3 separate regions of the Homo sapiens genome follow, and all the other regions are linked to region 3. The links are contacts of gene promoters, found by promoter capture Hi-C in blood cells and fetal thymus (Javierre and others, 2016). All regions are on one chromosome and are shown on one strand. The core of a region is centred on a gene start or on the middle of the fragment in contact, and the rest is flanking DNA. Distances in the headings are between cores, read along the strand shown. Region 1 holds the start of AQP10 (aquaporin 10). Region 2 holds the start of UBAP2L (ubiquitin associated protein 2 like). Region 3 holds the start of SHC1 (SHC adaptor protein 1).

Region 1 (4,693 bases), core at 1,565-4,064, 650 kb after region 3:
AAGAGAGCTATTTTAAAGGCAGAGTGCTGTGGACCCAGGGACAGAGCCCTTAGCAGAGGAAGGTGAGTGGAGGCCAGCACCAGGAGAGTCTGTCTCCCACCTGAAGACTTCAGGACCCCAGCCAGCCACGTAGGTGAAGAGACGTGGGCCCAGGTCCCGGGCAGGGTTGAGTGGAATCCCGCAGTTGGCACCCATGGATAACCCGAGGGCCAGGATCAGCATCCCCACCACCACAGGCTCCAGACCCGCAGGGACTCCCTTGTTCCGTCTGTCCAGGATGGCCAAGAGCCCCACAATCAGCATCCCAGTGCCCAGAACCTTGGAGTCAACAGAGGCAGAGGGTTCCCTGTCAGCTGCCAGGTGCTCCATCTGCCCTCTCTCATCCAAATATTCCATGTCATCTGGCTTTGTGCAACACAGGCAGTTGGGGATGGTGGGGAGTGCCAAGATAGACCCAACCCACACTCCACCCAGAGACTGAACAATAGGCTGGGGTGCCGAGGAACAGGACCAAAGTAGTGTCCCCAGGTCTCCCCCTCACACTTACCTGATCCAGGAAGCCATTGTTCAGGGACAGATAGGGGGCAGGATAGGTGGCAAAAATGGAGGCTGTCTCCTTGGGGCCAGTCACTGTCAGGTTCCCACCTGTATAGTTCTGTAGGGCATCTGTGGAGGAAGGGAACACCCAGGATTTCCCTCTTTGCTCATTCATCCAAAACCATTCTGAGGCACCCCTGCCCACCCACAGGTGCTCTCAAGGCACAGCTCCCTCTGTTCCCTCTGTCACCATGGTAGAGAACATAGGTGGCTCCCGAAGCACAGAAAGCAGACAGCAACTGCACCAAGATGTAAATGGGGAGCTTGACCCAGGGGAGGCGTCCAACGATGCACATGGCCAGGGAGAAGGCTGGATTCAGGTGGGCCCCTTCAAGTATCAAGGAAAGAAAAAGAGCATCTATTAAGTGTCACTGCCAGGCATTGTCACCAGACAACACTACTGCTCCTTCCTATAGCTCTTAAGGCAGATAGTGTAATTCTCATCACACAGCTTAGGAAATTGAGGCTCCAGATGTTACAGATGTTAAGTGACTTAGCAAAGTCACACTGTGGGCCAGGCACAGTGGCTCACGCCTGTAATCCCAGCACTTTGGGAGGCCGAGGCAGTGGATCACTTGAGGTCAGGAATTCCAGACCAGCCTGGCCAACATGGTGAAACCCCGTTTCCACTAAAAACACAAATATTAGCCAGGCGTGGTAGCAGGTGCCTGTAAAATCAGCTATTCGGGATGCTGAGGCAGGAGAATCGCGTGAACCCAGGGGCAGAGGTTGCAGTGAACAGACATCACACCACTGCTCTCCAGCCTGGGCAACAGAGTGAAACTCCATCTCAAAAAAAAAGAAAAAAAAAAAAAAAAAAGAAGAAGACACTGTGAATCCAAAGTTGGAACCTAGGTCTGTCTGCTTTTTCCACAGCAACACACTATGTCTCAAGGCTCCACCCAAGCACACCGATGCAGTGTGTATCTGGGGTACAAACAGGAGAGGTCCTGAGTGGAGATGAGCCCCCAGAGGACTTCAGGTGGGGGATACAAGAGGATAGCAGCTGCCCTTCGTGCCCTGCCATTGATTTCTGTCTAGGTGAGCCAAGCATTAGTGTGAGGAAGCAGGATGGAGAGATACAGAAAGAGGAGGGGCTGGTGGGGCCAAAGGCTTATTTCAGTCTGGGACACTGTTCAAGGGGATAATGTCCACGAGTCACAGAAGGATTTGCGTTTCCACCATCACCAGACAGACAAACTGGCATGCACATCCCACGTGCTCTGATGACCAGACCCCACCCTCCTCACCTGAGACGTTACCACCCACGTAGATGGCTATCGTAACGGCCAGAGAGCCAGCCAGAAACATGGTGAAGAAGTTGCCTTTGGTTTCTCCACTGGTGACAGCCTGGGCCACAGCTCCTTGGGTGAGGAGCTGCTGAGAAGAGGAGAGATGAGGAACAGGGAGCCCAGGAGACCAACAGGGAGAAAGGTTGGGAAGGCCAGGGGAGCAGCCAAGGAGATGAATGAGCACAGAAGACAAGCAAGGGAAGGAGAAAAGCAGAAGGAGGGAAGGGAAAAGAAATGGGGAAAGTGGAGGAAGAAGAAAGGGAAAGAATGTGGGAAAAAAGAAAAGAATTTACCCAACTCATAGGCATTTGAGGGTACAAACCCATGGCAGGGCTCAGCTTTAAAAAGTCTTATCTAAGATTCTTTCTATGGAAGAGTTCCATCAAAGCCAATTTTAAAAGCCTATGTGAAAAATAATTATTCTTGCTGCACTTTATACAATCATCAGGCCAAGTATAATAAAGCACATTGGTCTTACCATGAAAATGGTCTTTCATAAAAATGGGAAACTGAAGAGAGAAAAATTATGTTTCAAGAACTATGATACACTTGTTATTAAAGAAAGAATAAAAATGACAAGAATAAAAATGATGAAGTAGGAGAGGAAAGGAGATTAGGAGAGACGAGAGGATAAAAACGAAAAGTGATAGGGAGTTGAGAGGAAGGGGGACACCAAGAGAAAGAGATAAGGACAACAGAAGGAGCCAGGAACTTTTGCCCAACCCCCTTCTTTCCTTCCCGCAGTGATCCTACCTACCATGAGTACAAACACACCCAGAAACTCTGCCAGGCACTGCCGGGCCAGGAGGCTGCGTATCCGGAGGTGGCCCATGATTTCAGCCGGGGCCTGAGTGAAGACCATGGTGGAAACACCCTATTGCTATTCACTGCTCCCTCTGTCTGCATAGGCACACTGTCACTGCACAGCTACTGCCTGCCTCCAGCAAAGATAAGGAACAGACTTTAAAACCATTAGCTCAGTTCCTGAACAGCAGCTACGTGTCTGTGCACGTGTGTAGGCTAGGAAACAGAGAGATAACAAGAGAATGTCTGGGAGCAGGCTATGAACACAGAGCCTGGAGTTTACCCAACCTCTGTCTCTTTTACCCTTCATTCCCAGTCATCACAGGACTAGCCTCCCCCATCCTGACAAATAGAAGGAAGTACCCCGCTTCATAGACATTAGATCTCTTGGTCCTGAAGTCAGCTCTGCAAAGTAGTACTATTGCTTCCATTCTACAGATGAGGCTAGTGGGCCTTAGAACTCCCCAAGATCAAACTTTTTTTTTTTTTTTTTCTGAGAGAGAGTCTTGCTCTGTCCCCCAGGCTGGAGTGCAGTGGCACCATCTCAGCTTACTGCAACCTCCACCTCCCAGGTTCAAGCAATTCTCCTGCCTCAGCCTCCCAAGTAGATGGGACTACAGGTCCATCACACCTGGCTAATTTTGATATTTTTTAGTAAAGACTTGGTTTCTCGGGAGGCCGAGGCAGGCAGATCACGAGGTCAGGAGATCAAGACTATCCTGGCCAACATGGTGAAACTCCATCTCTACTAAAATACAAAAAAATTAGCGTGGTGGTGCACGCCTGTAGTCCCAGCTACTCGGGAGGCTGAGGCAGGGGAATCACTTGAACCAGGGAGGCGGAGGTTGCAGTGAGCCGAGATTGTGCCACTGCACTCCAGCCTGGCAACAGAGCGAGACTTTGTCTCAAAAAAAAAAAAAAAAAAAAAGACGGGGTTTCACCATGTTGGCCAGGCTGGTCTCAAACTCCTGACCTCTAGTGATTCACCTTCCTTGGCCTCCCAAAGTGCTGGGATTACAAGCGTGAGCCACCGTGCCCGGCCCAAGATCACACAATTATTTCATGGCTGAGTGAATTCAAATCCAGATTTTCTGACTCTCCAGCTGGTAACCCACAAAGCCTCTCATTTAGAACCTGAAGCCTTACCCCAAACCATTTGGATGCTTGAAGAACTCAATAGGCATCTGGAAAGACTGGGCTAAAGACCACAGACTGTGGGAATGAAACTCACATATTGAGTGCTTGTACTTCCCTTATGCCGAGTGTCACATAGGTTAGAGAATACTCCATCTTTGTGTCCCCTGACATGGCTTGACATGAGGCCTTCACACTCATGCTGAGCTCCACCTGGCCTTCTCTGGGTGCATGCCACTCTTGCTCTGCATGAAGTAACCGCATCCTACTTCTTCATATCTCAAGGCTCCAATTAAATGCATTCAAAGAATCTACGTCTAGACACTGGAGAAACAGTGGTGAACAAAACATAGTCTCTGCCCTCCTAGAGCTTATGTTCTAGTAGGTGGAAACAGACAATATGCAACTTTTTAAAATACCATATACAGTTTATGAAGTTCTTGAGGGCTACCATTATGATTTATGTAACCCTGTGGGCTCTACCACTGTCCTGGGCACATCTGTGTGACTAGTAAAGAAATAATATTTCTTTACTAGGTTTAATGGATACTATAGTGCTCCACCCAGATTCCCCCTTGGGAGCCAATATGCCCATTCGCTACATGTAGGAAATACCAGCTGCTGATACCACATAGCTACCTCCCTCATTGGGCAATGCCCTTCAAGTCAGAAAGATGCCTCACCGAAGGTTACATGCCCTCCTATGGGGCCCATGTCAAACACTGATTGATGGAGGGATATAAAAGTCTAGCCTCTTTGCCTCACTTTGCGACAACTCTAAAGGGCTGTTCCAGCTCCAGTTCCCCCATAGGATCCATTTAGGCATCTGTTATATCATCCATGTGTGTCAGTTTCTCCTGGTGCCT
Region 2 (4,360 bases), core at 148-2,647, 750 kb after region 3:
TTGGGATAGTCTAATCTTTAAGTACAATGGAGACAGATCTCAAAGCAGTTTTATCAACTGATACACAGCCAAAATGTTTTAATTCTCTAGAAACGCTGGTTACTAGTAATGTCCATCACCTCCCAGCAAGTCACATCAGGTATCCCCAAAACAGGATATGCGGCGGAGGAAGGTAGGATGGGAGAGAAGACAAAAAAAAAGGATTTCTCCATTTAATAATCAGGGAGAGTCAAAGGCAAAAACGTTAACAATAATAACAAAAACGCCTGTTACTGTGGTGTTTTTCTTTCCACAACATCCTACACCAGAGGTGGCTACATTTCAAGAATGGTGGAAAAGGAGCAGTCTCCAGTTTGTGACATCAGTTTGCAAAGCAATTTAAGGGCTGTCCACAAGGTTAAGGGTTTGAAGAAACTGGGCATTCCTGTACCATTATGAGAAGAGTGAACAAATACCCCAGTGCTCTAGTGACGTCCCTTAAGCGTAAATACACCCTATGGGGGCCTCCATGTCCAGCTTCCCAAATAACACAATTGTTTGGGGTACCCAAACTACAGTATAAACAGGAAGCTAAAGACAGCAGCAAAAACATATTCCAAGAACTGGGTTGGTGAGAAAGAAGGGAGGGTAATAAGAGGAGCTGACAAAGAGCCTGGAAACGGAGAGGGGACGCAAGCCCACGGGTGGAGGATGGGAGGCTCACCCCCCTCAGCGCCACATCGAGAGCCCACGGGGCCAATCTCCTCCCTACCTCCCAGCCGGAACAAATTAATCCTTCGCACACCAAACTGAGGGCCACATGGGGGAGTTTGGGGGAGCTCCACCCCATCGCCCTCCCTCCCCCACGCCACCCCCAAACCAGGCCGGATCCGGATCAGAGGAGGCCCGCAGTGGGTGGAAAGGGAGGAGGCCCTCTCCTCCGCAGGCACCGGCCGGGGTGAAGAGAGAGCCCTACCTCAGGCAAGGCCCAGGCCTCGCTCGCTCGCGCTCTTTCTCGCTCTCCCCTCTCAGGCTCTAGCCGCATGGCCCCCCCTTCCTACGGCTGCTCCAAGCCCCGCCCCGGCCACGCTCCCAAATCGAGGCCCCGGCTCTGGCGCGGCCCACTAGGCCGCGAACCCAACCATAAACAAAACCTCCGGGGGCCGACTCGAGGTGGGGGGCGCCAGGGCTCGCATGACTCGGGGGGGGGTGTACAGTGGGGGAACACACGGTGTGGGGGGGCCTACCGAGGGAGGGGATACGGCGGGGGCAGGGGAGAAAAGAGGGAGGGTAAAAGGGGGATCGCGGATTTAAAGGGGCCGCGGACAATACCCGGCCCCGCCGCGCTGCCGCTGCCGCCGCCGCCGCCGCCAACGCCGCTGCGCTCCCAACTTTACCTCAGTCTCCTCCACACTGACACCCCGGGCCGCGCCGCCCCTGTCACGTGATATAAGATTCCCTCTTCCCCACCCCCTCCCTCCTTTTCCCTCTCGCGCTCGCTCTCGCGCCTTCCCCCGCCCACTTGCCTTCCTGCGTCCCTCAGCGCGTGACGCTAAAAGGGGCGCGCACGCAAGCGTGCGCGTGCCGCCTCGCCACGAGACACCTCTTTCCGGCTCCGCGAGTCCACCCCGCCTCCTTCACGGCGGCCCTGCCTCCACCACGTGACGCACGGATGGCCGCCGCTTCCTCTTACTGTCGTAGTTCCGCGTCTGAGCGCTCGACGCTCCTGGGTGCCATTGCCTGCCTGAGTCACGTGTCAGGGGGAAGCTGGAAGGCGTCGTTCTCCTTTCCCAGCTCTCCTGCCTGTCCGCCATGTTTTCAGGCCGGGTCTGGCTTGGTCTTCCCCCGTAAGGAAATGGCCGGGGAGCTCCAGGGGACCCAGGCGCCGTCGCTTCGGCGGAGCCTGGGCTGACCAGCCAGGACAGCGGGGTAAACCCGAACAATTCTGCGCGAGGTAGGGAGGCCATGGCGTCCGGCAGTAACTGGCTCTCCGGGGTGAATGTCGTGCTGGTGATGGCCTACGGGAGCCTGGTGAGGAGATTACCCCACCCCATTCCTGCTGTCGCATCTTACCCAGTAGAGACCCTCCTTTTGAGCTGTACCCCGTCTGCATTCTCCACCCACTCACCTGCGCCTATCCGGGCTTTGACTCCTTATTCCAGGAGTAGGTGGGAGTTTAAGTCACTTAGTCGGGCCGACCCGCCCTCGTTAGTCTAGAACCCTCCCTTTAACGCTAGAGCACAGACCCCACGCCTCCCTGCTGCTGGCTTCTTAGATCCACCCCCATCATAACGGCCTTGCTTTGCCCCAAGTTTTACCCTGAAACATTCCTGAGAGCCGGAATCTGGGGATTTGGAATGAAGGCATGCTTTTTTAAAAAAAAAACAAAACAAAACTGACTTTTTATTAAAGGATTTTTACATCTTTTTGGACAGGTGTTTGTACTGCTATTTATTTTTGTGAAGAGGCAAATCATGCGCTTTGCAATGAAATCTCGAAGGGGACCTCATGTCCCTGTGGGACACAATGCCCCCAAGGTAGGTCCTTAGGGCACAAGTTAAACATACTTCTCCAGATCTTTTAGGGTCAAGAATGAGATTTCCTCTGCCTTTAGTGATGACTTTAATTCTCATGTTTCTTTGCGTGCACTTGTCCTTGTACTTACTAAGTTGAGCAGGCACTGTGCGCTTTGGAACTTGGCTTACCTGCTCAGTGCTGTGGCAAGCATGTGGCTCATCCTGGAACTTCTGTTTTTGTATCTGCAGAATGAAGGGCTTGGGTCGAAGTTCCCAACTGTTTGTAGTAAAATATTTCCCAGCTCATCTTAAACTACCCAGTGTTTTTTGTTTGATTAGGATGGGGTTGAGATCATTAAGGTTAACCCAAGAGCAATGAGAAGGGTTACCTTTACATAATTTTAGACTTAAGAGGAGCTCCATAAATCATCTAATTCCACCATTCATGTTACCAAGAAGCCCAAGAAAAGGAGGCAGTTTACCAGAAGACGTATAGGAAGTGAATAACCCAGTGGTCTTTTATCTTTGTCTGTACTTTCTCCTTAGGTGACTGTCTTCCTTTCCTTGGCTTTAGCTACAGATGAAATTTTATCTCTATCCTAGAACTCTTTCCTGAGTTCCTTACATATATTGCCAACTGATTACCTGACATTTCCACTTAGATTTGTAGTAGACATCTCAAACCCAACATTTGTGAATCAGAATTATTGCTATCCCACTGCCACTCTCATTCTGCTTCTTTAGTCTTTCGCTTCTAAGTAAAAGACACCTGCTTCCCTTACCAACCCCCTTTTGTGTGGCTCTCCCCAGATCACTGGGACCCAGCTCCACTGGCTGAATTTTCCACCCTTTTTGCTCCTGTGATCTGGAATGGTCTTCAATTGGCTAGCTCATTCATTCTTTTGATCTTAGCTTAAATGTTACTTCCAAAAAAGGAATGCTTATTACCTATTTTAAAGTAGGTTCCCCCTCTCTTTATTTTCACATGGTACCCTGATTTTTCCTTCATAGCATTTACCATAATTTTTATGTTTGTCCATTTGTTTAAAACATGCCTCTCTCTTCCGCTAGACCGTAAGCTTCAAGAATGCAGGCACCATGCCAGTTTTGTTCACGACTATAAAGCCAGGACCTACACATAGTAGGTACTCAGTAATTTCTTGTTGAATGAAAAACAGGTTAGTGCCAGGGCCTACACATAGCAGGTACTCTGTAATTTGTTGCTGAATGAAAAACAGGTTAGTTGTAGAGCTAGAGCTCATGACTCCCTCAACTCCTAGAGCACTGTACTTTCATTAACAAGTGCTATTAACCTTCCCCTCTTTGTTCTTTGCTGACATAGTACATGAAAAGGCTCTAGGAGGATGTCCTGGCTTGAAACCTTAACAGTCCTGCCTGCCTCATGAGAAAGACATAGGGTTAGTTTCTAGCACATCATGAACCAATCAATACTTTGGCTATTCAGGGGTCCCTTGGTCTAGTTCAGAGCAATATTCCTTTTGCTTAAAAATTTTTTCTAAATTCTCAACCATTGCTAGTGAAAGTATAAATTAGTAAAACCACTTTGGAAAATAACTGGTCATTGTCTGGTAAGATTGCACATGTACCTAATCCATGGTCCAACAGTTTCTCTCCTACCATAGAGAAATTAAGTTTTGCTCATGTGTACCAAGAAACATGTGCAAGATTATTTATAGGGGCATTGTTCATAATATTTGAAGAAGAAACTTAATTCAAATGTCCACTTTTCAATTATTATATAGGCTGAGTGCAGTGGCTCATACCTGTAGTCCTAGCACTTTGGGAGGCTGAGGCCAGAAGATCATGTGAGCCCAGGAGTTACAGACTGCAGTGAGCTATGATTG
Region 3 (4,965 bases), core at 1,975-4,474:
CCGAAACTCCGCCTCCTAGCAACGATCCTCGGCTAACTCCTGTCAAAAGGCCTATCTCCCAAAAGGGCAAAACCCTGCTCTTCAAAGAACGATTCGAATTTGTTGAAGCTCCGCCCCTCCGAAGCCACGCCCCCTCCGTAATCCACGTCTGACTGTCCAGAAAGCCTCCCCGCCCAGAAGTCTGAAGTTCGCGTCCTTAGGGGACCACGCCCCCTTAGGAGCTTTATCTTTGTGGGACCTGGGTCATCAGCTGAAAAGCCTTGTCGTCAATCCCTGAAACTCCACCTGCTTATATTTTCCTGTCCTTTCTCTTTTTGGGCCTTGGGATCAGTTTTCCGAGCACTCTCGTGCTCCCCCAGGTGGGAAGTCAAAGTTCCCATCTCTGGCTGTAAGGAGTGAGATTAAAGGCAGCCGTTTTCCGTTTTCCTTTCTATCTTTTTTTTTTTTTTTTTTTTTTTTAAGACGGAGTTTCGCTCTTATCGTCCAGGCTGGAGTGCAATGGTGCGATCTCGGCTCACTGCAACCTCCGCCTCCTGAGTTCAAGTGATTCTCCTGCCTCAGCCTCCTGAGTAGCTGGGATTACAGGCGCCCACCACCACGCCCGGCTAATTTTTGTATTTTTAGTAGAGACGGGGTTTCCCCATGTTGGCTAGGCTAGCCTCGAACTCCTGACCTCAGGTGCTCCACCCTTATCAGCCTCCTTAAGTGTTAGGATTACAGGCGTTAGCCACTGCGCCCGTCCCCGTTTTCCTCTTTCTTAACCTCCTCCAAGGGTAGAACTATTTGAAAGGGCTGAACGTGGGGTTTGGCACGAGAGGGAGAGAGAGACTTGCCCTCAGACTCCCAGCCTCACTTCCTGGCTTTCCCTTCCCAGGACCAACCTCATCCCAGAAGTAGCTCTAGGCCTTCCTAGACATAAGTGGATAAGACCATGGATTTGTTGGTGTGTGGCATGTGGGTGTGACATGAGCAAAAGTTTTCTACTACCAGAAGAACGGTAGTTTGGAGTGGGGGTAGATAATAGTGCTCTTTTTGTTGTTTGATTTTTTTTTTTTTAAGGGACAGTTCAGTCGCTACTTCTCTGTCTCTTCCCCTCCCCCTAACCAGAGTTCTTGTCTGGGCATTCCTCCTGGCCCCGTTTGCCCAGCCTTCCCTGCTGGAAACATTCCTGAGGCTTTCGCCATTTCCTGCCACTTCCCGCCCCTGTCCCCTCCTCCCAGTTGGGCTGCGAAGCCACACACAGCTTTTCCCCTACACCCAATCACCTGGACTTCCAGTAGGCAATCTCCTTTCTCCCTATGTAAATTTCAAGAGTCATACGTCTTTCTTTTCTTCCGAACGCCCACACCCGTTGGTCCTTCCCTGGCTCTGGATACTGTAGGCTCCCACAGAACATCATCTCTACAGATGAGGGACATCCTAGTGTGTGTTTGTGTGTTTTGGGGGTGTGAGGCTATGGTGGAATCCTTTCCTCATTCTCTCTATGCCCGAGAGCTGGCTGGAAATGAAGTGATAAAATTCCTTCTCAGGATTGGCTGGCAGAGTGACAAAGCTCTTCTGGAATGAGCACTAAGGGGAGATGTAAGAGTTAAGCACAGCATCTAACACACTTCAAGTGTTAATGTTGTTAATCAGGATAATTATCTATCTATATTTTAATTCTCTGAAGTAAATCTAAGGGTAATTCCAAGGTGAGCTGGGGGGAATACGTATTTTTTTTTTTTTGAGACGGAGTTTTGCTCTTGTCACCTAGGCTGGAGTGCAATGGCTCGATCTCGGCTCACTGCAACCTCCGCCTCCTGGGTTCGAGCGATTCTCCTGCCTCAGCCTCCTGAGCTGGGATTACAGGTGCCCGCCACCACGCCCAGCTAATTTTTGTATTTTTAGTAGAGACAGGGTTTCACCATGTTGACCAGGCTGGTCTCGAACTCCTGACTTCAGGTGATCCACCCGCCTCAGCCTCCCAAAGTGCTGGTATCACAGGTGTGAGCCACCGCGCCCGGTAGGAATACGTATCTTTGTTTTTTTTTTTTTGGTCACTTTCCAGCTTTGCCTGTGGCATTCTCCGGAAGAGCAGTGGCAGGAAGCCGTGGGTGGCAGGAATGGGTTTGGGACTGTTCCCTGTGTCCAGCTTCAACCCATCTTCTCCTGACACCCCTTTCTCCTGTACTTATTTTTCTCCTGTCCTTATTGACGCAGATGTGTCTTCTGATCTCTCTGTCCCTTCCTGGCCTGTAGTTTCTACTTCTCTTGGAGAACTGTTTCTTCCACCTCCTCCAGCCAGGCTCCTTCCCTGGTGTGAAGGATGCTGTGCTCTTTGGTGGGGCTTAGGGCCCTGTAAGAGGAGGGATGTGAATTGGGGTGGTTTGGAGTGGGAGTGGGGACCTGATTGCCTCATTCTCACCCTTGACAGTGTGCTGTGTTAACAAGCCCTGTGGAAAGGGGAGACAGGACAGTGCTTGGCTATGAGCCATCGGTCTTGGTGTGGTAGATGGCATACGTAGAGAACAAGCCGTGACCAGCATGTCCTCTTGTTCCCTTCTTGCCTGGTAGCTTCCTGATGTATCATCCAGGTTGAACTTTATTCCCCTTTTTTCACCAGCTTTGCTCTTCCTCTTGGCCCTGCTCTGCATCCATTGGGACCACTTACTTCCCATCCCCACTTCGCTAGCTCCAGTCCACAGCTGCTGTAGCAGAGGATGCTAATGGCCCAGGCTTACTGTATGGGGTAGCGGTTGGGGGTGGCCTGGGCTGGGGCCAGCCAGCTTTCGGGCATAGAGAGGGTGGGGGAATTCGAGTGTCCAACCAGGACAGGAAGGGAAATGCTGAGCTCTGAGATCTCCTCCCTTTTCCACCCCCAGCTGCCTCTGTTTCCTCCCTCATTCCCCTGTACTCCTGCCTGGCTTCCTGCCCCCTTTGGCCTGCGTGTGTCCGGTTTTGAGTGACCCAGACCTCCTATCTCCTTCCTTTCCGTCCCACTCTTCCATCCTTCCCTCCCACCCCCACTTTACTTCTCCCCAGATTACTAGTTGTTTGTATAGGGCAGGGGAGAGGGGCTTGGATAGCCCTACCCCCTGCTCCAGTTCGAGGTTGGGGCGGGGTGGGGGCTCAGCCCCTCTGAGCCTGTGAGTCAGCACTGTCCTCACGATTGGTCTCTCCCCTTAGCTCCCCGCCCCTGGGGAGGAGCCAGAAGCGCTGGGTCCAGCCTGTTCTCTTCTCAGCCAGAGAAGAGGCTCCACGTTGGGCGGGGATGGGGCCTGAAACTGTCTGGGTCTGAGCTGGGGAGCGGAAGCCACTTGTCCCTCTCCCTCCCCAGGACTTCTGTGACTCCTGGGCCACAGAGGTCCAACCAGGCTAAGGGCCTGGGGATACCCCCTGCCTGGCCCCCTTGCCCAAACTGGCAGGGGGGCCAGGCTGGGCAGCAGCCCCTCTTTCACCTCAACTATGGATCTCCTGCCCCCCAAGCCCAAGTACAATCCACTCCGGAATGAGTCTCTGTCATCGCTGGAGGAAGGGGCTTCTGGGTCCACCCCCCCGGAGGAGCTGCCTTCCCCATCAGCTTCATCCCTGGGGCCCATCCTGCCTCCTCTGCCTGGGGACGATAGTCCCACTACCCTGTGCTCCTTCTTCCCCCGGATGAGCAACCTGAGGCTGGCCAACCCGGCTGGGGGGCGCCCAGGGTCTAAGGGGGAGCCAGGAAGGGCAGCTGATGATGGGGAGGGGATCGTAGGGGCAGCCATGCCAGACTCAGGCCCCCTACCCCTCCTCCAGGACATGAACAAGCTGAGTGGAGGCGGCGGGCGCAGGACTCGGGTGGAAGGGGGCCAGCTTGGGGGCGAGGAGTGGACCCGCCACGGGAGCTTTGTCAATAAGCCCACGCGGGGCTGGCTGCATCCCAACGACAAAGTCATGGGACCCGGGGTTTCCTACTTGGTTCGGGTGAGTGAACATCCTCCTCTCCATTCCCCCGCAGACCCCCTCCAGTTCTAATGCTCACTCCAGCTTGGCCGGAATCTCTTTTTTCCTGCTGTTCCCCAACAACCCCGTTTCAGTGTCCTATTTCCTAAACCTTTCTCATCCCTTCCCCGATTCTGTAGCCCCTTCCCTTCCAGCTTTGCCTGGGCCCCCTTCCTTCTTTTCACTCCCCCACCCCCACCCTGGCATGCTTAGCACAATGCCCAGCATGGCAGAAGCTCTTAATAAGTGTTGGAATGAATGACTTCTTGATCTTTCCTCCATTCTCCTCCCGCTTTCTGGAGTTGTCACTCCATCCCAGCCAATGCCTGTCGGTCCCCTCCAAACTCTCTCCCCAGTGTGTGAGGTCCTTCTAGCCTGCCTTTTCTTTTTCTCCTCATTCCCTGTTGTCTTTCACCTTGGTTGTGGGATGTAGCCACGGGAAGTGGGCAGAACTTCTTCCTCTTTACTTCCCTTAGGGACCATATGGGTAAAGTCCTAGGGCCCTTTGTGAAGGGGCTGGGGTGGGGGAGCCGCTGACCTGCTGTCCTCTTCTCCCTCCCCTTAGTACATGGGTTGTGTGGAGGTCCTCCAGTCAATGCGTGCCCTGGACTTCAACACCCGGACTCAGGTCACCAGGTTAGTGGGGAGGGAGTGGATTGTGGGAGTCCTGGGATTAGTGAGGCCATGGGAAACAGAGGAGGGGAGTGGGTCACTTGGGTGCTGCTGCTGGGGGCTGATCTTTGCGTAGTAAAGGGGATTGAGAGAAAGCTGAGGTAGTGATTCCGCCTCTTACTGAAAGGAGGCCCCTTTGGCCCGGATCCTCCTTACCTATCCAGCCTTGGGAGTTGTGGGGAAGGTGGCAGAAGCAGCTGGCAGGTGGAGCTGGAGTAGAAAAGGGGGGTAGATGGAAGGTTGCTGCTGCCTTTGGGAAGGGAATGGGACATTTGGTAGCTGGAAGGGGGTGGGGCTATACCCATTGAGGCCCTAACCCAATCAGCCAGGAAGTGG

Evidence for each region. The method cuts DNA at HindIII sites, captures the fragments that hold promoters and counts their contacts. A CHiCAGO score of 5 or more calls a contact.
Region 1: the fragment with the promoter of AQP10 here is called in contact with the fragment with the promoter of SHC1 in region 3 in 1 of 17 cell types (non-activated CD4 T cells); the score reaches 5.3 in non-activated CD4 T cells.
Region 2: the fragment with the promoter of UBAP2L here is called in contact with the fragment with the promoter of SHC1 in region 3 in 1 of 17 cell types (neutrophils); the score reaches 5.4 in neutrophils.

The regions. Positions count from the first base shown.
Region 1 is chr1:154,319,214-154,323,906 of GRCh38, reverse strand. It overlaps AQP10 (aquaporin 10), which reads right to left and starts at 2,814. Exons shown (of 6, transcript NM_080429.3): 1 at 2,647-2,814; 2 at 1,848-1,974; 3 at 788-925; 4 at 548-666; 5 at 101-318. The coding sequence starts at 2,751. RefSeq lists a silencer at 2,844-3,035. The HindIII fragment of the contact is 12,155 bases long and covers 1-4,693 here.
Region 2 is chr1:154,217,992-154,222,351 of GRCh38, reverse strand. It overlaps UBAP2L (ubiquitin associated protein 2 like), which reads right to left and starts at 1,397. Exons shown (of 27, transcript NM_014847.4): 1 at 1,377-1,397. LTAP1 (lipid transport auxiliary protein 1) reads left to right here and starts at 1,762. Exons shown (of 7, transcript NM_001098616.3): 1 at 1,762-2,010; 2 at 2,415-2,516. The coding sequence starts at 1,945. RefSeq lists silencers at 1,224-1,373, 2,234-2,303 and enhancers at 894-1,641, 1,624-2,063, 1,642-2,389. The HindIII fragment of the contact is 10,463 bases long and covers 1-3,576 here.
Region 3 is chr1:154,969,006-154,973,970 of GRCh38, reverse strand. SHC1 (SHC adaptor protein 1) reads left to right here and starts at 3,224. Exons shown (of 12, transcript NM_001130040.2): 1 at 3,224-3,939; 2 at 4,523-4,593. The coding sequence starts at 3,445. RefSeq lists enhancers at 3,346-3,896, 3,897-4,447. The HindIII fragment of the contact is 11,130 bases long and covers 1-4,965 here.